Linked DNA regions of Homo sapiens: regions 1 and 3 are each linked to region 2. The links are contacts of gene promoters, found by promoter capture Hi-C in blood cells and fetal thymus (Javierre and others, 2016). All regions are on one chromosome and are shown on one strand. The core of a region is centred on a gene start or on the middle of the fragment in contact, and the rest is flanking DNA. Distances in the headings are between cores, read along the strand shown.

What was found. The method cuts DNA at HindIII sites, captures the fragments that hold promoters and counts their contacts. A CHiCAGO score of 5 or more calls a contact.
Region 1: a fragment that was not itself captured here is called in contact with the fragment with the promoter of PEX39 in region 2 in 1 of 17 cell types (total CD8 T cells); the score reaches 5.4 in total CD8 T cells.
Region 3: a fragment that was not itself captured here is called in contact with the fragment with the promoter of PEX39 in region 2 in 1 of 17 cell types (total CD8 T cells); the score reaches 5.3 in total CD8 T cells.

What each region holds. Positions count from the first base shown.
Region 1 is chr6:42,569,988-42,574,643 of GRCh38, reverse strand. It overlaps UBR2 (ubiquitin protein ligase E3 component n-recognin 2), which reads right to left. Exons shown (of 47, transcript NM_001363705.2): 2 at 651-910. Among named protein-coding and RNA genes, the nearest start is that of UBR2, 8.3 kb to the right of the region's middle. RefSeq lists enhancers at 1,685-1,734, 1,825-1,884. The HindIII fragment of the contact is 744 bases long and covers 1,668-2,411 here.
Region 2 is chr6:42,889,411-42,894,017 of GRCh38, reverse strand. PEX39 (peroxisomal biogenesis factor 39) reads left to right here and starts at 3,197. Exons shown (of 1, transcript NM_001008739.2): 1 at 3,197-3,753. The coding sequence starts at 3,230. The coding sequence ends at 3,535. RPL7L1 (ribosomal protein L7 like 1) reads right to left here. Exons shown (of 6, transcript NM_001366481.3): 6 at 4,118-4,607. RefSeq lists enhancers at 2,746-2,795, 2,856-3,705. The HindIII fragment of the contact is 5,960 bases long and covers 1,924-4,607 here.
Region 3 is chr6:42,630,879-42,635,656 of GRCh38, reverse strand. UBR2 (ubiquitin protein ligase E3 component n-recognin 2) reads right to left here. Exons shown (of 47, transcript NM_001363705.2): 12 at 2,942-3,105; 13 at 2,753-2,852; 14 at 111-239. Among named protein-coding and RNA genes, the nearest start is that of UBR2, 69 kb to the right of the region's middle. The HindIII fragment of the contact is 3,448 bases long and covers 587-4,034 here.

The DNA of each region.
Region 1 (4,656 bases), core at 790-3,289, 320 kb after region 2:
AAATTGGACAGTCAAAAAGGGGACAAGGCACTTTATTCTCCATCTTCTACCCTTGTATACTCAATTTTCACCAAGAAATTTAAAAAAGAAAAGTCTTCCTAACAGCAGTAAATGCATACAGCACCCAGATCTTGGTTTCTAACTACCATTCCCAAATGAAAGAAAAATCTTTAAAGAAATAGCTGATTGTACATACGGGTCAGAGCAAGTACAAAGTGAGCTGGGGCATCTTGTGCCAGAAAGGAAAGAAGCACCCACAAACTAATGAAGGCATGTGAAAAAGACAAGATGGTGTGACGGGGCTCTCACTAGCCAAATCTATGGCAATTTGAACATCAGAATTACTGTAACTAAAAAATATCAAGAAAAGCAAGAAAGTGATTATTGCAAGAGTCAAGATGTCAGTTAATTATGGGGGAAGGAAGAAAGCACACAGTGGGCTTCAAGAATGCTGGTGACAATTTTTTTTGATCAAGAATAATTACAAAAATGTTTGCTTTAATTATTTATTAAATAGCATGTATTTGTAATACAGATTTTTAAGCAGATATGGTATTTCATAATTTTTAAACAAAAACTCAAAAGTTCCAGGGAAAAAAAGAGGTCAAATAAAACAAGAGCCTCCTAGAAAGAAAATTAAAATATTTTACCTGCAAGAATATGTAGGCTCTCCTACTTTAAAAACACGACCACAAAGATGAGAAGGTTTGTTTGCTTGCTCAAGTTTTGGAAATCCAAATGCAGGATCTTCACCACAAAGGTACCATTCCATTGGTCCCAACAAAACATGCTGTGCCAGCATGTCTTCTTTCTGTGGAAAAGGGTTGGGACCCCTGCAGTAGATTTTGGGTACATAGTGGGCTAAATGCTGGTACACTTCTCTAGTGAGGTCAGTTGCTTGCAGCCATTTCTTTAAAAGAAGAAAAGAGAAGAAATGGTTTTAAACACCAACAAACTAATTTGAACAAATTCACCCTACTTTCTTTTAGGTACAAAAATAATGACAAAAGCATATTAAAATATTTTGTTTACAACACTCACCACCGTACGTTAGAAATTTAATCTATTAAAATGCCAAGTATGTTTAAATCCTACTTTTAAGTGTAAGTAAAATTAAAATGAAACAAGCCTCCCTCCTTCCCTGCAAAATGACTCTTGAAGCAATCTTCTCTAGGCAGTACCAGAAAATAATTACAAGAAATCATTATATAAGATATGAACCATTGAGCTCACCTAATGTCCTTCCTAATGCTTTGCTCAAATGTTATTCTCATTGTGATATCAATTCTCACGTCAGTTTGTCCATAGGAAGAGTGTACGGTGAATATGAACAGCCAATATGTACGGTGAACATGAACAGCCAATACACATTTCTTAATGATTGATAAGCAAGTTTATATACCAGTCTCTTATTGAATAAGTCAGTCCACAAGAGACTGTTGTACCAATTATGCCTTCTTTCTCTGATCAACTTCTCTCTCTCTATAAGGCCTTTTCCGTTTGCTCTCCCCACTAAAAACAAATTTTAAAGCATGATTCTACTTAGATCTCATAGGTACCAACTCAATAACTGAATGCATGATCTCCCCTCCATGCTCCACCAAAATCTGTTATTTTCTCCATTTCCAGCTCAACCTGGGTATCCACACCGAAAAATCTGAAAAGCTTCCCAGCACTTTGGGAGGCCAGGCCAAGCAGATCACCTGAGGTCAGGAGTTCAAGACCAGCCTGGCCAACATGGTGAAGTCTCTTCTCTACTAAAAATATAAAAATTAGCTGGATGTGGTGGCGCATGCCTGTAATCACAGTTACTCAAGAGGCTGAGGCAGGAGAAATCGCTTAAACCCAGGAGGCAGAGGTTGTAGTGAGCCAAGATCCAGCCTGGGCGACAGAGCAAGAGTCTGTCTCAAAGGACAAAAAAAAAAAAAGACTCACTTCTGCTAGAATGCAGTTAACTGAACCGTGAACAAAACCCACAGATGGAGGGAAAGAGGAAGGGGAAGTGAGTTGAAAAACTACCTATTGGGTACTATGCTCACTACCCAGGTGCAATATACTCATGTAACAAACCTGCACATGTATTCCTTAAATCTAAAGTAAAAGCTGAAATTAAAAAAAACCTCCAATGTTTACCTATGGATTACTACCTAATTCCAGTTACATTTTTATTTAAAAAAAAAAAAAAAGTATGTTCAAGTGATATGTAACATCATAAGAAGTCAACATAAGGTCTTCATTTTAGCTATTACTTGTATATTCTTCAGACCACTCCTTCTAAAAACAACATACAGAGAGATTTTAAATATGCATGAGGTGATGTATATTAACTTTCTAGTCAATTTCTGTTTTCAGAGAACTTTTACTAAAAATGTAAAAATTTTGTTCATAAGTTAAGGGACTGGATAGAAGCTTATAACCAAAAACGGTGAAAGAGTTTTCATGCTTAAAGTGAAACTAAACTATTTTCCAAATATTACTAACATTGTTGTGTTTACATTATGCAAGTAGGAAAGAGACTAAATTACTTTCAAAACAACAGCATTTCTTCCCTGGTGGCCAAGTGGTTAGGGAAAAAAAAATAAAAATAAAAATAAAACAGCAGCAGCAGCATCATTTCTTAGGAGACAATCCTACAGGCTTTAAGTATTCTCTCCCTTCAGAGTGACTCAATCAAAATTTTATATATACATACACATCCTTTAAGCTCAGTAATTATAAAGAGGACAAGTTTTAAAAAAAGAAAAAGAGTCCTCAACAAGCATACTAGAATCTTATTCTTTGAGCTAAAAGACCTCGTTTTGGCCTCATTCAAAGGTAAATGTCTCATTTTTCACCCATTGTCAGCAAACCAAAACAAGAATGAAGGTAGTCAAATGATCCTAAGCGCTTTTTTTTTTTTTTTTTTTTGAGTCTCGTGCTGTCGCCCAGGCTGGAGTGCAGTGGTACGATCTCGGCTCACTGCAACCTCTGCCTCCCAGGTTCAAGTGATTCTCCTGCCTCAGCCTCCTGAGTAGCTGGGGTTACAGGTGTGCACCACCACACGCGGCTAATTTTTGTATTTTTAGTAGAGACAAGGTTTCACTATGTTGACCAGGCTTGTCTCAAACTCCTGACATCAGGTGATCTGCCCACCTCGGCCTCCCAAAGGTGCTAGGATTCAATTTACTCTTTATGAAAGAAAAATTAAGCAATAAGACCAAAATAATTCACCTCCATGATCCTAGAAAGTTAAGTGCTTCGGACTTTTTTTTACAACATATTGAAAGATTTTATTTAAAAACCAGTTTTTTTCCTTATATTTTATGTTCCCATTCCTGTAAAACTTCACTGTTGCAAAATTTTAATACAAGAATGAAAGGTTACTTTAGAAGGGATGCTTTTTTTTTTTTTTTTTTTTTTTTGAGACGGAGTCTTGCTCTGTCACCCAGGCTGGAGTGCAGTGGCGCGATCTCGGCTCACTGAAAGCTCCGCCTCCCAGGTTCACGCCATTCTCCTGCCTCAGCCTCCCAAGTAGCTGGGACTACAGGCTAGCATGGATGCTTTCTAAAAAAAAATTATGCAGTCTAGTAACTGTAACGAGAGCAAATTTGTTCATAGATTTCTTCAACAAAAATTCAGACGCTAGTATCAGCTTCTGGTTAAGAAAAAAAAAAAAAATCGGCCAGGCTCTTTGGCTCATGCCTGTAATCCCAGCACTTGGGAGGCCAAGGCGGGTGGCTCATTTGAGTTCAGAGGTTCGAGTCTAGCTTGGGCAATATGGCAAAACCCTGTCTCTTCTAAAAATAAAAGAAGATTAGCTGGGCATGGTGGTGCATGCCTGTAGTCCCAGCTACTCAGGAGGCTGAGGTGGGAGGATCACCTGAGCCCCGGAGGTTGAGGCTTCAGTGAGGCATGATCACGCCACTGCACTTCAGCCTGGGTGACAGAGTGAGATCCTGTCTCAAAAAACAAACAAACAACAAAAAAAAAACTAGCCACTTTACATAAAAATATTATTAGTAAAACAAGCAAGTATTTCACTCTTTATTACATATTATTATAAATAACAAGACTTAAAAGTCTGGTCCAAGAAAGGCATGCATATGCTCCCCATTTTTCAAATCTTTACTACTCCTGGGCACAGTGGCTCACGCCTATAATCCCAGCACTTTGGGAGGCCAAGGTGGGCAGATCACTTGAGGCCAGGAGTTCGAGACCACCATGGCCAACATGGTGAAACCCCATCTCTACTAAAAATACAAAAATTAGCCAGGAGTGGTGGTGCACGCCTGTAATCCCAGCTACTTGGGAGGCTGAGGCAAAAGAATCGCTTGACCTCAGGAGGTGGAGGTTGCAGTGAGCCTAGATCACGCCACTGTACTCCAGCCTGGAGGACAGAGTGAGACTCCGTCTCAAAACCAAAAACTTTACTACCATTATATGAAAAAATCACAATCACCTAAAAGATTTGGGCTCTATTACAGGCACTTTAAGCTGATTAAACATACATACTTAATATAAAAAGCAAGAAAAATTTATGACTGTCTTTCAGAAGTAGCTCACACATTTCCCCAAAGAATAAAATCTATAGCTTTTCATATTAGTTCTAACATATGCTAACTGCAACTGTTTCTTCAACATGAAAAATTAAGATTTCCAGTTTGGTTGGCCTTTTGT
Region 2 (4,607 bases), core at 1,948-4,447:
AGAAGCATATATCTGGCCTATGTGCACATCCAGGCATAGTACCTTCCCTTGAACTTATTTGTGACACAGATTCCTTTGCTCACATGTTTTCTTGCTGACCTTCTCCCCGCTATCACCCTGTTCTCCTGCTGCATTCCCCTTGCTGAGACAGTGAAAATAATAATCAGTAAATGCTGAGGGAACTCAGAGACTGGGGCCAGTGCAGGTCCTCCGTACGCTGAGCGCTGGTCTCCTGGGCCCAGTGTTCTTTCTCTATACTTTGTCTCTGTGTCTTATTTCTTTTTTTAGTCCCTCGTCCCACCTGACGAGAAATACCCGCAGGTGTGGAGGGGCAGGCCACCCCTTCAAAATTCTTTATTATACAACATTCAATATGGTCAGTTTCCTCCAGACTGGCTTCTCAAGCTCTTACCAAGTGCCCCCTACCCCAATTTTTTTTTTTTTAACAGAGTCTCTGTTGCTCAGGCTAGAGTGCAGTGGAACAATCTTGGCTCACTGCAGCCTCAACCTCCTGAGCTCAAGTGATACTCCAGCCTCAGCCTTCCAAGTAGCTGGAACTACTGGTGTGTGCCACCACATCCAGCCAATTTTTGTTTTTGGAGGGGGTCTCACTATGTTGCCCAGGTTAGTCTTGAACTCCTGGGTTCAAGTGATCCTCCTGCCTTGACCACTCCCAAAGTGCTGGGATTATAGGCGTGAGCCACTGCACCGGGCCTACCCCAACTTTTTATTTTGACAAGTTTCAAACCCTCACGTGGATTCACTAATTCTTAGCAATTTTGCCACATTTGCTTTCTTTCTGTCATCATGACACTTCACCTCTACATACTTCAGAATGTATTTGCTATGAACAAGGTAATTCCCACACATAACCACAATTATCACACTTGATAAATTTAACATTGATATATCGTTGTCATCTAATATATGGATCATATTCAAATTTCCCCAAGGGTAAAATGTCCTTTAGAGCTGATCTCCCCTACACAATCTTGCATCTAATCCAGGATCACTCATTGAATTTATTTATTTATTTATATTTTATTTTATTTTTGGAGACAGAGTTTCACTCTGTCTCCCAGTCGGAAGTTGCTGGCAATCACAGCTCAGTGCAACCTCCACCTACCCGGGTTCAAGCGATTCTTCGACCACTGCCTCCAGAATAGCTGGGACTACAGGTGTCCACCACCATGTTCAGCAATTTTTTTTTTTTGTATTTTTTAGTAGAGATGGGGTTTTGCTATATTGCCCAGGCTGGTCTTGAATTCCTGAGTTCAAGCAATCCACCGACCTCAGCCTCCCAAAGTGCTGGGATTAAAGGCATGAGCCACTGTGTCTGGCCTGTATTTATTTTTTATGTCTCCTTTAATCTGGGGTAGTTCTTAGCTTTTTCTTAATGTTTTATAACAACGACATCTGTAAAGTGTCCAGACCAATCATTTTGCAGAATCTCTCTCACTTTGATCTCTATTTCCTCAAGACTAGGTGGTGAGTGAACATTTTTTGGGCATTTTGGGGAGGACTACTACAGAAATGTACTCCCCGTGTGTGTGTCCTTCCCAGTGCATCACATCAGAAGGCACACAAGGCCAGTTTGTCCTATTAAGCTTTTTTTTTTTTTTTTTTTTTGAGACTGAGTCTCACTCTGTTGCCCAGGCTGGAGTGCAGTGGTGTGATCTCATCTCACTGCAACCTCCCTGCCTCCTAGGTTCAAGCAATTCTTCTGCCTCAGCCTCCCAAGTAGGTGGGATTACAGGTGCGCACCACTATGCCTGGCTAATTTTTTTGTATTTTTAGTAGAGATGGGGTTTCGCCATGTTGGCCAGGCTGGTCTCAAACTCCTGATCTCAGGTGACCTGCCCACCTCAGCCTCCCAAAGTGCTGGGATTACAGGTGTGAGCCACCACGCCTGGCCATTAAGCTTTGATTCTTTGATTAAGGTGATGTTCACCAGATCAGTCTAGCTTTTGATACTTTTTTTTTTTTTTTTTGAGACAGAGTTTTGCTGTGTCACCGAGGGTAGAGTGCAGTGCTGCAATCTCAGCTCACTGCAACTTCTGCCTCCCAGGTTCAAGCGATTCTCCTGCCTCAGCCTCCTGAGTAGCTGGGATTACAGGTGCATGCCACCACACCCAGCTAATTTTTGTATTTTTAGTAGAGACGGGGGTTGCCCCATGTTGGTCAGGCTGGTCTCAAACTCCTGACCTTGAGATCCACCTGCCTCCACCTCCCAAAGTGCTGGGATTACAAGTGTGAGCCACCGTGCCCGGCCACTTTTGATAATTTAAAAACCTGACTTTCCGAGCAGTCAGAGCAGCTGTAGCACATCTGACCTGCTTTCACCTTCGATCTTCTCTGGGACCACCAAGAATTGAAGGATGGCAGGAAGTGTGAAGAAAGTGGTGAGGCTCTGGCTGGGTGCGGTGGCTCACACCTGTAATCCCCGCACTTTGGAAAGCTGAGGCGGGTGCATCACTTAAGGTCAGGAGTTCGAGACTAGCCTAGCCAACATGGTGAAACCCTGTTTCTACTAAAAATACAAAAATTAGCTGGGCTTGGTGGCATACACCAGCTACTAGGGAGGCTGAGGCACTAGGGACCCTGTGGATCGCTTGAACCAGGAGGCGGAGGTTGCAGTGCGCTGAGATCGCATCGCTGCACTCCGGCCTGGGCAACAGAGTGAGACTCCGTCTAAAACAACACAAAACAATAATAACAACTAAGAGAGTAGCGTGGCTTGGTGGCGGTGTCACTCCTGAGGCCTCTGGGAACAACTCTACAGTTATGCTTTGTCCCGTGCTGCGGAGCCTAGTATGGGGATTATCCCCCGCCATGCGTTGTATCTGAATCCTTGTACGCGCGCCCGGGGGTGTGCATGAAAATGGGCATGTGCGCGGTGCTTATGTATGTATGGGTCTTTTTGCCCGCAGCGGCGCGTCCGCAGGCTTGTTCTGTCCTGTGCTAGCCTTCAAGTTTTGGCACGTCCGTCCGTTTTTCTTCTTTGGCGCGTCCGTTGGGCACTCTGGGTTTGGCTAAATCGTGGACGCTTCTAAAGCGTTTCTGCAGGGAGCTGGTCAGAGTTGTCAAGTGCTCCCCCAGTTCTGGGCCGGCTTGGTACGGTCTACAGCCTCCCTTTCCTTTCCCCACCTCCCCCATGGTGGTTGCACCCATTCGGCCCGGAAGTGCTCGCTTCTCTGCATTACACGCCGGTCAGGATTCGCGACCCGACATGGAGCGTCCCCGCAGTCCCCAATGCTCGGCCCCGGCCTCTGCCTCAGCTTCGGTTACCCTGGCGCAGCTCCTGCAGCTGGTCCAGCAGGGCCAGGAACTCCCGGGCCTGGAGAAACGCCACATCGCGGCGATCCACGGCGAACCCACAGCGTCCCGGCTGCCGCGGAGGCCCAAGCCCTGGGAGGCCGCGGCTTTGGCTGAGTCCCTTCCCCCTCCGACCCTCAGGATAGGAACGGCCCCGGCGGAGCCTGGCTTGGTTGAGGCAGCGACTGCGCCTTCTTCATGGCATACAGTGGGCCCCTGAGGTTCCAGGTCCTTTGCGGCGGCGATCTGGAGGGCGTGGCTACAGGACCCGGGATGCCATTCAGTTACTCATCTTTTATGCTTTCGTCCTGACCTGTCTCAACTAGACTTGCTCCTGCAACCACCATGGGGGTTTTGCATTTACATTTGTGGACCATGTTACAGTTAAGAAAAATCCTGTTTCAGTCCTTATATGTAATAAAATGTTTTATGATGTAACTTGGCCCCAGAATGATTTTGAAGATACATTAAAGGAAAGCCCAAAGCATTTAAAAAAGCCAACCAAGAAAGACTAAAATCTTGGCTCTTGGAATCAGCTGGATCAGGCAAGGGGCTAGAGAATTAGAGCATTAGAAAGGCTCCCACAGCCACCCTGAAATCAGTCCTTTTATGTTAAGCAGGCCACCTGGCTCAGTGCCTACATACTCAACACTAGATTTTACTTTCTCTACAAAAGCTAGAATGTACCTGGTACGTGCTGACATGACCCTAACCCACAGACGATGTAACAGGTCTACCTTTTCTCAGAAAGGATTGTCTCACAACTTGTTCAACGAATTAGTTATGTCATGGTACATACATATAAGTGCGCAATTTTTGTAACATCTTTTATTTGTATACAATTATAAATTACAAACTTGTTTTATTAGGTTTTTTAAAATTTATTTTTCGTCAACTTAGTCCCTTTTATTTACCAGCAGTTTGCTCTGACAGAATAAATTACAAACTATTGTTTTGTTTAATCCCTTTAACCATCATGTCAGGCACACAGGTTGGAGAATATTAGCTCCCATTTTATGGACAGAGTGGAAACACTGTACCCATATTTAGTGTAAGACAGAGCTGGGATATAAGCCTTGGGCTTCCATAGTCACAACTGCTTTTTTGCATAACTTTGTAATACATCATTTTAAAGTAATCTGATTTCACAATGTTTTACAGTATAGGAGTAACATCTATAGCATCTCTTCTTGGCAGGTTACCTCTGGAGAGAACCAATCTAATTACCTCATACGCTGGCACTTTTTTTTTTTTTTTTTTTGAGACAGAGTTTTGCTTTTGTTGCCCAAGGT
Region 3 (4,778 bases), core at 1,061-3,560, 260 kb after region 2:
ACTAAGTATCACCACTATTTTCTCCAGATCTCCTTGAAATTTACTTAGGATTCTGCTTATTCCTCCCTCTTCCACTTTCCTCCTATTCCCCGCACCCAGAAGAAACTCACATCTGAAGCACACCAGTCCTGCATCATTGAAATGACATGTGTTAATTTCATTTGTAGTGTGAAGGCTGCTTCCCACTCTGGTTCCATTTCAATATGTTGTCCTACTTGACGTGTAATTGGATCCATTCCCTTAACGGAAGTGAAAAAATTATATATGAATGAAAATAATAGTTGTTCTTTTATATGGAAACCTAAGAAGTAATGTAGGAGAAATATATATTGATTATAAAAACATAGAAGGTATAAGTTTTAACAGGAAACTTCAAGTACTATGAGAAATAATAGCTTTTAAAATTATGTGTTTATATAACATTCTCTAAAATATAAATTTAGAAATCCCAATAAACACATTATTTCAGAGGTATCATCTAAGATCTGTTTTAGGCAATAAAATACTTCAATATTTCACTGCAATAATCCTTCCTTTTTAGCTCTATGGTCTATAGAAAAAATTGTTAAAAGAAATGTGACAAGCTTTTAAAATGTTATTGAATTTATAACTGTATTTTATAATAAAGTTTTAATATTATGTCCTAATATGCAATTAGAAGTTTTCACAGAGCCTGAAAGAAGGCAAAACAATAAATAGCTTTTAATTAAAATTACTGTTCAGAAACTAGCCTAACTATTCTAGTATGTCAGAACTTATTAAACAATAGAGAATACAGAATACTTCAAGTATCAAAAATGACCAAAGTAGCTATTGTTTTCACAGATACATGAAAAACATAGTAGTATTATAATAAACACCCATGAACTACCACCCAACCTAGGAACTAGAATGGTAAGTCAGGCCAGACATGGTGGCCCACGCCTGTAATCCCAGCACTTTGGGAGGCCGAGGCGGGTGGATCACTTGAGGTCAGGAATTCAAGACCAGCCTGGCCAACATGGCGAAACCCTGTCTCTACTAACAATACAAAAATGAGCTAGGTGTGGTGGCGTGCACCTGTAATCCCAGCTACTCGGGAGGCTGAGGCAGAAGAATTGCTTGAACCTGGGAGGCAGAGGTTGCAGTGAGCCAAGATCGCGCCACTGCACTCCCGCCTGGGCGATAGAGCAAACCTCCACCTCCAAAATAAATAAATAAATAAAAATAAATTCAAACAAATAAAAATAAAAATGGTAAGTCAACTTTGGTCATTCCTTTTCTTAAGAAAGCCAGGTGGCTACTAAAGAAATCATAATAGTACTTGCTCAGATTTTTAGAGACGTCACCTATCTTCTTACAGTTATAACTGGTTAAATATACCTGTTCGTTTCTACTTCTAGATTCTGTTTTGTATATAGGGATGTTTCCTAAAAAGAGAATTAAACAGGGGAAAAAGGTCTACACTGTATTATATAAATACCACATGAAGGAGAGAAAAAGAAACATGGAAACATTAAAAAGCAAAATCAAAAACCACTACAGTTTCTCAAATAACTTGACTATACTTCCAAGAAAGCATATTAAAAAAATAAACTTGTAACCTCTAAAGAAAGAACATTAGTGGAAACCAAAGAAATATAAAAGTGGCTGGCGCAGTGGCTCATGCCTGTAATCCCAGCACATTGGGAGGCCGAGGTGGGCGGATCACTTGAGGTCAGCAGTTTGAAATCAGCCTGGACAACTTGGTGAAACCTCGTCTCTACTAAAAATACAAAAAATAGCCAGGCATGGTGGCAGGTGCCTGTAATCCCAGCTACTCAAAAAGCTGAGGTCAGAGAATCACTTGAACCCAGGAGGCGGAGGTTGCAGTGAGCCAGGATTGTGCCATTGTACTCCAGCCTGGGCAACAGAGTGAAAAACTATGTCTCAAACAAAACAAAACAAAACAAAACAAAAAACAAACAAAAAAACAACCCCAAAAACTGGCCAGGTGCGGTGGCTCATGCCGGTAATCCCAGCACTCTGGGAGGTTGAGGTGGGTGGATCACTTGAGGTCAGGAGTTCGAGACCAGCCTGGACAACTTGGTGAAACCCTATCTCTATTAAAAATACAAAAAATTAGCTGGTGTGGTGGTGTATACCTGTAATTCCAGCTGTTTGAGAGGCTGAGGCAGGATATTCACTTGAACTCTGGAGGTGGAGATTGCAGTGAGCTGAGATTGCGCCACTGCACTCCAGCCTGGGCGACAGAGTGAGACTCCATCTCATAAACAAAACAAAACAAAAAAAACCAACACAGAAAAAACCCAAGAGCAGTAGATGCCGGAATGTTTGCTGGGATCTCCTTTGCTCCATACCTTTCTAAGAATTTCCAATTAAAGAGGAGCTTCCTGGTCAGAATTGCAGCCATCCAAATTGATCTTTTGGAAATGTGCACGAAATGAAAAGATGCGCAGACAGAAAGCTGTTCATTTCAATGAACAACAACAACAACAACAACAACAACAACAAAGAAGCTGGGCCTGGGCCCGTGCCTGCGCCTCTAGTCCCAGGCAACTTTGGAGGCTGAGGCAGGAGAACTGCCAGAGACCAGGAGTTCAAAGGTATAGTACACTATGGTTGTGTCTATGACTAGCCACTACACTCCACCCTGGGCAACACAGTGAGACCCCCATCTCTTAAAAAGAAAAAGAAAAATTAAAAAAAAAAAAAAAAAGAGAAAAGAGAAAAAAAAAAAAGGAAAAAGAAAAGTGTAACAGTTTTTACATACCTGCATACATTTTAGTAATTCCAAAAAGGCATCAAACCCTTCTAGGAACTTCTGCCTCAGCTCATCTGACCATTCAGTTGGTTTGCTAATTAACACATACCTGAACAAGATAAAAGTGACAGTGGCAATTAACATAAACATTGACTTTCTATAAATTGCAACTGGTTTAATAATTAAATGAAAACTTACTTGAGATCTAAAATAAGGCTCTGTACTCTCCTAAATTTGAAGGCTTGTAAAGCAGTGTATCGTTCAAACTGAAATCTGCCCTGGGCATCTCGATGTCTCAAATGATCCATAAAAGTCTTAATGATAATGCTCATTAAGTTTTCTTCTGTGATGAGCATTCGAGCCTAAAAACAAAGTTTATCAGAGTGCATGGTAATCAAAAACTATGTACTAGGAAGACTAAAAAAAAAGTCACCAACATTGTTTAGCTCCTTCAGTTTAAACCTTTTTCAACACAACTATATATCATAAATGCATTACTGTGTATTTCTAAATAACAATTACTTACTCCAATTGCCATGTGTATGAAGCAACAATTATACCAGATGCCAGAAAGATGCCAGAATGTTAGAAGACAGTTCCAAGGCTCATTACTCAAAGATAAATTCAGGGTGGGGGCTCTGAATCAGGCTGCAAATTTTCCTTAACTGAGACATTTAGACACCTATAATGGTATGGTATAGTTATTCTAGGATCCAGAGGTTTACGACACAGATTCTCTAGAACTCAGTATGAAACAATATTTTCTCTTTATTTCCTTAGTTGAGATTTATTTTTTGTTTGTGTGTGTGTGCATGTGTGTACATATATATATATATATATATATTTTTTTTTTTTTTAAATAAGCAAATACATGTAAATCATACTAAATGCAACAGGGAGTCTCCTAGCTCCTGAGGTCTTCTTTCTAAAGGCAAATCTTGTTAATCGTAGTTCCTTGCATATTCTTGCAGAGATGGTATATGTATGTGTATTTTATATATATATAATTACAGAACCTGTATTTATATATATATATATATATATATATATATAAAATCAGAGTATATACTACATAATACACACACATATATAAAATGTATAAATACATAAAGTGTGTATTAAGTATACACAAGTATGTATATCTATCTTTTTCCTACAAAAGATAGCATATTATATTGTTTTGTACATTTTTTTACTTGATATGGGACAATGTCCCATATCAGTTCATACAAATGCTCGTCATTCTTTTTAACCAGGTCTACTTTTGTATCAGATTTTATTTAGCCAAGCTTTTACTGGTCAGACATTTGGGTTGTTTCCAGTTTTATGCTATTAAAAAAGATGTTGCAACAAATATCCACTGTGTATAGTTGTAGGAATATTTATAGAGTAATTTCCTAAAAGTGGAAGTAATCGGTTAAAGAGTATGCACATAATAAATTTTAATGATATCACCAAATTGTTTCCACAAAGAGGCTCAACAATTTCTCTTTCTACCTACAATGTGGGCCATGCCCTCTCATGCCCTCCATAACACAATATAACTTCAAACATTTTGCTCTTTGCCATTTTGATGGTGTTAATCTCTGCCCTAATAGAGTCAGAAAGTCTAATGTTACTTTGAATACTTCATTTTGCACTCTGATACAAAAGATCATGGATCCTCACCCTGACATTTTCCAGCCTCAACAGCTAATCTCTCCTAGGATTCTAGAGTGTTATTGATGCTGGGTGACAACTTAAACAGGCCTCGCATAAGTCAAGATTAGGTAATTAGCAACAGAAAAAGTTTCATCAAAACGTAGAACAAGGCCAGGTGCAGTAGCTCACGTCTGTAACGCCAGCACTTTGGGAGGCTGAGGCAGGCGGATTATTTGAGCCCAGTTCGAGACCAGCCTGGGCAACACAGTGAAACCCTGTCTCTATAAAAAATAAAACAATTAGCTGGGTGTGGTGGCATGTACCTGTATTCCCAGCTACCTGGGAGGCTGAGGTGGGAAAATCACCTGAGCCTGGGAGGTCAAGGCTGCAGTGA